Regions from separate parts of the Homo sapiens genome. Here regions 2 and 3 are each linked to region 1. Evidence: promoter capture Hi-C in 16 types of primary human blood cells and fetal thymus (Javierre and others, 2016). All regions are on one chromosome and are shown on one strand. Each heading gives the region's core, a stretch centred on a gene start or on the middle of the fragment in contact. The rest is flanking DNA. Distances are from core to core; before and after follow the strand shown. Region 1 holds the start of CFAP54 (cilia and flagella associated protein 54). Region 2 overlaps CCDC38 (coiled-coil domain containing 38). Region 3 overlaps SNRPF-DT (SNRPF divergent transcript).

What was found. Contacts are between HindIII fragments. The CHiCAGO score rates a contact against its expected background, and 5 or more counts as called.
Region 2: a contact is called between a fragment that was not itself captured here and the fragment with the promoter of CFAP54 in region 1, in 1 of 17 cell types (neutrophils). The highest score is 6.0, in neutrophils.
Region 3: a contact is called between a fragment that was not itself captured here and the fragment with the promoter of CFAP54 in region 1, in 4 of 17 cell types (monocytes, fetal thymus, neutrophils and 1 more). The highest score is 8.1, in monocytes.

What each region holds. Positions count from the first base shown.
Region 1 is chr12:96,488,208-96,490,907 of GRCh38, reverse strand. It overlaps CFAP54 (cilia and flagella associated protein 54), which reads right to left and starts at 1,331. Exons shown (of 68, transcript NM_001306084.2): 1 at 982-1,331. The coding sequence starts at 1,298. RefSeq lists an enhancer at 1,083-1,292 and a silencer at 1,183-1,477. The HindIII fragment of the contact is 3,410 bases long and covers 1-1,886 here.
Region 2 is chr12:95,909,891-95,912,590 of GRCh38, reverse strand. All of the region lies in intron 4 of CCDC38 (coiled-coil domain containing 38), which reads left to right. Among named protein-coding and RNA genes, the nearest start is that of CCDC38, 31 kb to the left of the region's middle. The HindIII fragment of the contact is 4,522 bases long and covers 1-2,700 here.
Region 3 is chr12:95,851,693-95,854,392 of GRCh38, reverse strand. All of the region lies in intron 1 of SNRPF-DT (SNRPF divergent transcript), which reads left to right. Among named protein-coding and RNA genes, the nearest start is that of SNRPF-DT, 5.8 kb to the left of the region's middle. The HindIII fragment of the contact is 767 bases long and covers 938-1,704 here.

The DNA.
Region 1 (2,700 bases), core at 82-2,581:
CCTTGTAAGATTATTTACTTACATATTTGTTTAGTGGTTGTTTATACCCACAAAAACATATGCTCTATAAGGACATGGATTCTTATATGTTTTGTTAACTTGATGTTTTCCTAGTTCCTTGAACAGCACTTGATATACAGTATGTGCTCAATAAATAGTTGTTATATGCATAAATAAAAAATATTTTATTTTATTTATTTATTATTATTATTTTTTGAGAAGGAGTCTTGCTCTGTCGCCCAGGCTGGAGTGTAGTGGCGCGATCCCAGCTCACTGCAACCTCTGCCTCCCGGGTTCAAGCAATTCTCCTGCCTCAGCCTCCTGAGTAGCTGGGAGTACAGGCATGTGCCACCATGCCCAGCTAATTTTCGTATTTTGTATTCATGTATAAATTTTTGGCTCGCTCAAGGGTTTCACAACTTTCCATGTTATGAGTATATAAATTTGTATATGGAGAAAAAGGAATAACTTCGAGGTAGCTCAGGTTCATGAAGCTAGCTCTTGATACAATGAAGTATGTCATCCTGTGAACATGTGCACTTTAATTCCTTCTTATATTGCTATTAGGATTACAGTGACTTTTTCTTAATTTTGCTATTCATTCTGCGCAACTGTTTGCCTTTTTGGGAGTTCTATCACCATGTTATTACTGCAAACTGCGAACTCTTTTTAAGGTTCTTTCCTGCTTATGTTACCATCTTTCTTTTCTGGTCAAATAACAAATGGTGAGTTATGAAACATTTCTGTGTAGATTTTTATTTTGACCTGAGCAGGAAGCCAAGATATAACAGCTCCCAGGAATTAAGGATTGTTAAGAGCGACGAGTCTCCACTTCTTAAACTTTGTCTCTCCTGGGCCCTTCAGCCAGCCCCTGCGTCCGCAACGCTGAACCATCTCTGGGGCCACCACCTGCATCCTCCAGCCCTTTCCAGGGGTCCCTCCTCTGGCCGGCGCCCTCCCCAGTGCCCCGCCAGCGCTTACCAACGCCGGCGGAATTCGTGCTTCTCTTCCTCCGTGGTGGCTAAAGCCTTCTTTTTCCTCATAAAGCCTAACAACTCCTGGATCTCCTTCTCACAAGAGGCCAGGAGCGGGTTTTTCGCGTCCAGCGGCCCATAAAACACGGCTAGGGGCAATGAGTCCTCGGGGCAGGTCCACTGAAGCAGCGAGCTCCGGGAGCTCCCCTTCGACTCTGGGGGCGACCTCGAAGTCGCGGTGGAGGTCGGCGGCAGTTCTGGCAGAGACCCCGAGGTGGTAGAGTCGTCTGACGGAGAGCTCGAGGGGGAGCCCTGCGCCGCCATATTGACGCGCCCCGGCCCGCCTGGAGTATGTGTACACGCGGTTGCCTGGCGACGGTCTCGTGGCAACCGGGCATCCCGCGCGCATTCCGAGAAACACAGCGGCCCCTGGAGGGCAGAGCGAGAAAGAACCAGGTCCAGAAAACAATGATGCTCCTGAGGGCGTTGCCTGGTTGTGCGCTGGCACCGCTGTATGAAATGCGAACAGAGAATGTTCTGAGCAGAGCGCTGGCGAATATTAGAGCCAAAAATTTAAGGTCACAAATCCAGACTATACTCTTTATCCATGTTGGCCACTTAATAACGATAATGATGACGACCATGACCATTAACGTGTGTCAGGCATTAAGCATTTGAAACATGTACTTTCATTTATCTCATTTAATCATCATAACTACTTTACAACTTAGGATACTATTAGTATATCCATCTCACAGTTTAGGAAACCAAAGCTCAAGGAGGTTAAGTCATTTGACAAAAGTCAGCGTACAACCGTAGTGTCAGCGACCAGGTCCTCCAAAGGGAACTTGTGACTCCAAAGCCTGTGCTCAAAATGAATAGGCTGTATTGATCACTCCCCAAAACAAAGCTTATTAATCAAATTGAAATTAGAGAAATATCTGACAAGCAGTTTAAGAATCAAATACAGTTGGCCCTCCAAATCTCGGGTTCTTCATCTGTGGATTCAAGCAACTCCAGATTGTAAATATTCAGAACAAAATTAGAAATAACAATACAACAATAAAAATAACACAAAATACAACTATTTACATGGCATTTATACTGTATTAGGTATTACTAGTTATCTAGAGATGATTTAAAACATCCTGAAGGATGTGCACAAATTATATGCAAATACTACAGCATTTCATATCAGAGGCTTGAGCATCCACAGATTTTGGTATCTGCGGGTGTCATGGAACTAGTCCCCCACAGATAGCCAGGGAGTACTGAATATGCAGCTGATCCATTCTCTTTCCTCTATTTGTACCTTGAGGTCTGTAACTGTGGACATGATGTCTATGCCTCTAATAATTATGATTACATCTATTTATGCACATTCCAGCCTTACTTTAATTATCTCTGTATTCTAAATTAATGTGCATTTTGCTCAACCTTAACCATAGGACATTAATACATACTAGTGGCCTGAAGTGTTAACTCTCAAAATACTTTGCATTTTAAACAGGGCTTTTAGGAGACTTTACTTCTGATGGGGAAACTACAGACCTCCAGGGAAATACTTGGGGAGTTTATTCTTAGCCTGTGTATTATAGGCAAAAGTCAGAGTTAAATTTATTAAAGTATGAGTATTGAGAAAATGGAGAACCTTCTTTTCTATAAATTATGCAACACAATAAATTATCTAAGAGAAGAACCAGAAATATTTGGTGGCTTAGAAAAA
Region 2 (2,700 bases), core at 176-2,675, 580 kb after region 1:
AAAATATGTAACAAACTATTGCTAACTATAGTCACCTTACAGCGCTACAGCACACTCAAACTTTTTCCTGCTGTCTAGCTGTACTTGTGTGTCTGTTAACCAACCTCTTCCTATCCCCCCACCCCCATCCTTCCCTGCTTCTAGTGACCACTATTCTACTCTCTACTTCTATGAGGTCAACTTTTTTAGCTTCCACGTAGGGATGAGTATTTAAATTCTTAAATTTTAGATTCAGGGGATACATGTGCAGGTTTGTTATGAGGGTATGTTGAATGATGCTGAGCTTTGGGCTTCTATTGATTGCATCACCAAAATAGTGAACATGGTACCCAATAGGAAGTTTTTCAACCCTTGCTCCTCTCCCTCCCTCCCTGCTTTAGGAGGCCTCAGTGTCTATTATTCCCATCTTTCTGTCCATGTGTACTCAATGTTTAGCTCCCACTTATAAGTGAGAACATGCAGTATTTGCTTTTCTGTTTCTGTGTTAATTCACTTAGGAGAATGACTTCCAGCTCTATCCATGTTGCTGCAAAGGACATTATTTTATTCTTTTTATGGCTGCATAGTATTCCATGGTATACATGCACCACATTTTCTTTAGCCAGTCCACTGTTGATGGGCATCTAGGTTGAGTCTCTGTATTTGCTGTGGTTAACATTGCTGTGATGAACATACAAGTGCATGTGTCTTTTTGACAGAACAATTTATTTTTGGGGAGGTAGGTACCCAGTAATGGGATTGCTGGGTTGGATGATAGTTCTATTTTTAGTTCTTTGAAAAACCTCCAAACTGCTTTCCACATGGGGCTGAATTAACAGTGTATTCCCATCAACAATGTATAAGCATTCCATTTTTCTCTGCAACCTAGTCATCTGTTATTTTTTGACTTTTTAATAATAGCCATTCTGACTGGTGTGAGACGGCATCTCATTGTGATTTTGATTTGCATTTCTCTGATGATTGGCAATGTCGGGCATTCTTTCCAGTTTATCGGATGTCACTTGTATGCCTTCTTTTGCCTACTTTTCAATGTGTTTTTTTCTTGTTAATTTGTTTAAGTTTCTTGTAGATTCTGGATATTAGGCCTTTGTCTTTGACAAAGGTTGCGAATATACATAGCTTGCAAATATTTTCTCCTATGCTATAGGTTGTCTGTTTAGTCTGTTGATAGTGTTTTTTGCTGCGCAGAAGCTCTTTAGTTAAATTAGGTGTGAATTGCCAATTTTTATTTTTGTTGCATTTGGTTTTGAGAACTTTTCCTAGGCCAATGTCTGGAAGAGTATGTCCCAGATTTTCTTTTGGGATTTCTTTTTATAGATGGAGGTCTTACATTTAAATCTTGAATCCCTCTTGAGTTAATTTTTGTATATGGTAAGATGAAGGGATCTAGTTTCATTCTTCTGCATATGGCTAGCCAGTTTTCCCTGCACCATTTATTGAAAAGGGGATCCTCTCCCCATTTTTTATTTTTGTCATCTTTGTTGACAATCAGTTGGTTGTATGTGTGCAGCTTTATTTCTCTGTTTTCTATTTTGTTCCATTGGTCTGTCTATTTTTGTACCAGTACCATGCTGTTTTTGTTACGGTAGCCTTGTAGTATAGTTTGAAATCAGGTAATATGATGAGTCCAACTTCGTTCTTTTTGCGTAGGATTGCTTTGGCTATTTGGGCTCTATTTTGGCTTCATGTAATTTTTATTTTATTTTTATGAATTATTTATTCATTTAGAGACAGTGTCTTACTCTGTCCCCCAGGCTGAAGTGCAGTAGCATGATCATAGCTCACTGTAACCTTGAACTTCTAAACTCAAGCAATCCTCCTGGCTTAGTCCTGTGAGAGGCTAGGACTATAGGCACGCACAACCATGCTCAACTAATTTTTTAATTTTTTTGTAAAGATGGGTTTCTTGCTGTGTTGCTCAGTCTGGTCTTGAACTCCTGGCCTCAAGCAATCCTCCCACCTTGGCCTTTCCAAGTTTTGGGATTACAGGCATGAGCCACCATGCCCAGCCTGAATTCTAGAATAGTTTTTTTCTAATTCTGTGAAAAGTGACATTGGTAGTTTGATAGGAATAGCATTGAATCTGTAAATTGCTTTCATAAGTGTGGACATTTTTAATGACATTGATTGTTCCAATCCATGAGCCTGGAATGTTTTTCAATTTGTTTGTGTCATCTATGAATTCTTTCAGCAGTGTTTTGTAATTCTCATTGTAGAGTTCTTACACCTCTTTGTTTACAAATATCCATAGGTATTTTGTGTGTGTGTGTGTGTGTGTGTGTGTGTGTAATGTAAATGGGATTGCATTCTTGATTTGGCTCTCAGCTCAAATGTTATTGATGTATACAAATGCTGTTGATTTTTGTACATTGATTTTGTATCCTGAAACTTTGCTGAAGTTGTTTGTCAGATCTAAGCCTCTTTTGGTGGAGTCTTTGGGGTTTTTTAGGTATCGAACCATATCATCAGTGAAGACAGATAATTTGACTTCCTCTTTTCCTATTTGGATGCTTTTGTTTCTTTCTCTTGCTGGATTGCCCTGGTTAAGACTTCCAGTATTATGTTGACTAGGAATGCTGAGAGTGCAAATCCTTGTCTTGTTCCAGTTCTTAGGGGAAATGCTTCTAACTTTTACCTGTTCCGTATGATGTTGGCTGTGAGTTTGTCATAGATGGCTGTTAGTATTTTGAGGTATGTTCC
Region 3 (2,700 bases), core at 72-2,571, 640 kb after region 1:
GAAGGTCAGAGAGAAGGTCAGACCTTGGTTCTGAGGCTGCTGCTTTAGTGCAAAGTAGCAGTATGCTTCGGGGTATCATTTTCTGAGCCCCAACAAAGGAAACCTGGTATTGTGGGTAGGAGCCAATACTGTCTGAGTTCAAATCCTGACTCTGCCATGTGCAGCTTATCTCTGCTTCAATCTCCTCATCAATAAAGAGGATGATCATGATAGTACCTATCTTAAAAAAATTTTTTTTTAGTGAGGTGGGCTGTAACTATGTTGCCCAGGCTGGTCTCAAACTCCTGGGCTCAAGCAATCCTCCTGTCTCAGTCTCCCAAGTGGCTGGGATTATGGGTGTATACCACCATGCCCAGTTCAATACCCATCTTATAAGGCTGCTATTAGGATACAATATTTGTGGTGTTTATCCACCTCCTGATACTGAATAGTTTCTGTAGCGAGGTACGTAGGCACGTGAGTAGGTCAATGTGACCTACAATAACTAATGCTAATAACTAATATTGGACTACTTGTTTGCTGTTTGCTAAACTGCTGCTTGCTCAAAAAGTTCTGGGCTGTTGGCTTTGATTCTTCAGCTGTGCTGGAATCCACTGTGCACATCTATCTGTCTGGGTCTATCACTTCACCTCTTGGGACCTGGGGGGCAAGGGAGGCTGACATGGCTAAGACAATGCTTCTGTTTGCTGTGTGTAGTAAACTGTCTTGTTCTGATCCACATAGTCTCATTGTCTCCTTTCAGCACCTGTGGAGAGACAGCAGGTTTACTCCTTGCTACCTGAAGTTGGGGTTCTCTCCTGACTCTCACAGGGTTAACATTAAATGAAGAACATTAAATGAGATAATATATGCAACGCAGTACAATATCTGGTCAGTTCGATAAATATTTGTTCTCCTACATTTATATTCAATCAAAATCTAATTATCCCCAAAAGCTTGGTTTAAGTAATGTAAAACCAATGTAAAAGTAGCACCTTATATATTTATGGGGAGACCAATCCCTTTATGGACCAGAAAATTAGTTTGCCTAATAACTCAAGATATAAGAGATTAGTCTAGACCCAAAACCACATTTATTAGCCATTAAGTGCAGAGGGAGCTGGAGGGAGCTAGCAATCAAGGACCTGGGAAACAGATGAGACAGAAAATGAGTGGATGCATACAATTTGTTCATATATATTGAGTTATATTAAAAAAGCAGTATAGGCCAGGCAGTGTGGTGCATGCCTGTAATCCCAGCACTTTGGGAGGCCGAGGTGGGTGGATCACTTGAGGCCAGGATTTCAAGACCAGCCTGGCCAACATGGTGAAACCCCATCTCTACTAAACCTCGTCTCTACTAAAAGTACAAAAATTAACCAAGCATGGTAGTGCATGCCTGTAAGCCCAGCTACTCAGGAGGCTGAGACACAAGGATCACTTGAACGCAGGAGGCAGAGGCTGCAGTCAGCCGAGATGGCACCACTGCACTCCAGCCTGGGCGACAGAATGGGACTCTGTCTCAAAAAAAGAAGGCAGTATATACGGCAGCAGAAGATAATAAAAACAGTATATTTAATAGCACATTATATGATTGTTTTATATGATTGACAACATAATGGTTGATAATGCTGGTTCTAGAGGCCAGGTTCGAATCTGAGTTTGAATCCTGCCCCCAACACTTACTAGTGGGAACTTGTGTAAGTTACCCGCCCTCACTAAGCTTATTTTCCCATGACATAGGGATAATTGTTTCTTTCTCCCAGTGTGGTAGTGGATGTTAGGAGTTAGTACAAGGTTGTTCCTCTATCCTTCCTGAAGATGTGGTTTTAAAACCATTAGATGGAGTAAGCAAAGTATGCACCTGTGCTGGGGTATGGGGGTAGTCACAGTGGTCTGAATGGAGTGAGGAGAACATCCACATAAGAGAGCAGCCAGTGTGGGGTGTCAGAGCCTGAGCAGGAGGAGGAAGGTATCTACATAGGAGGGCAGGCAAACATGGGAAGTTGGTGCCTGAGGAGGTGAGGATGGTGATCACGCATGGCGAGGGGCAGCCCAGCACCAGCCATTGGAGCCCAAGTAGGATGAAGCATCCCCAGAGGGTGGCCTGACAGGGAGTGTTGGAGCCTGAGTGGGGTTAAGAGGGTGTCCACACTGCGGGGAAGAGGGTGGCCTGCTGTGGAGTGTCAGAGCCTAAAGGAAGCAAGGAGGATGTCCATGCAGAATGACCTGGCACACGGTGTCAGAACCTGAATGGAATGAAGAAGAAATGCAGGGGAGGGGACAATGGCAGGAAGGGAAATTTGTTACAAGGGCACTAATCAAAGGAATCAACCTATAATAATGAGCATACTTAATGCTCAGGTTTTAGTTTCTAGAAACTGCTTCCCACTAAAGGAATCAGGATCCCTTCGAACATTGGCTATTTTCAGTCTTCTTCACTATAGTAACTGGTAGACACCATCTTATTACAATCCAGTGATCAAACAACTATCGTTAGCAACTGGAAAATCAAAATCAGGTGCCACATGATAAGATGCAAAGAAAAGATGCATTCTGTGATATTCTTACCAAAGCCACATAACCTGAATCTAGTAATCAGGAAATATCAGACAAACCACATTGAGGAACAAAGTGGCCTGCAATGTTCAAGAGTGTCAAGGCCACAGAAAGATCTCCATGATAAATTGCTGAGAAAGACAAGGCACCGAATAATTTGCA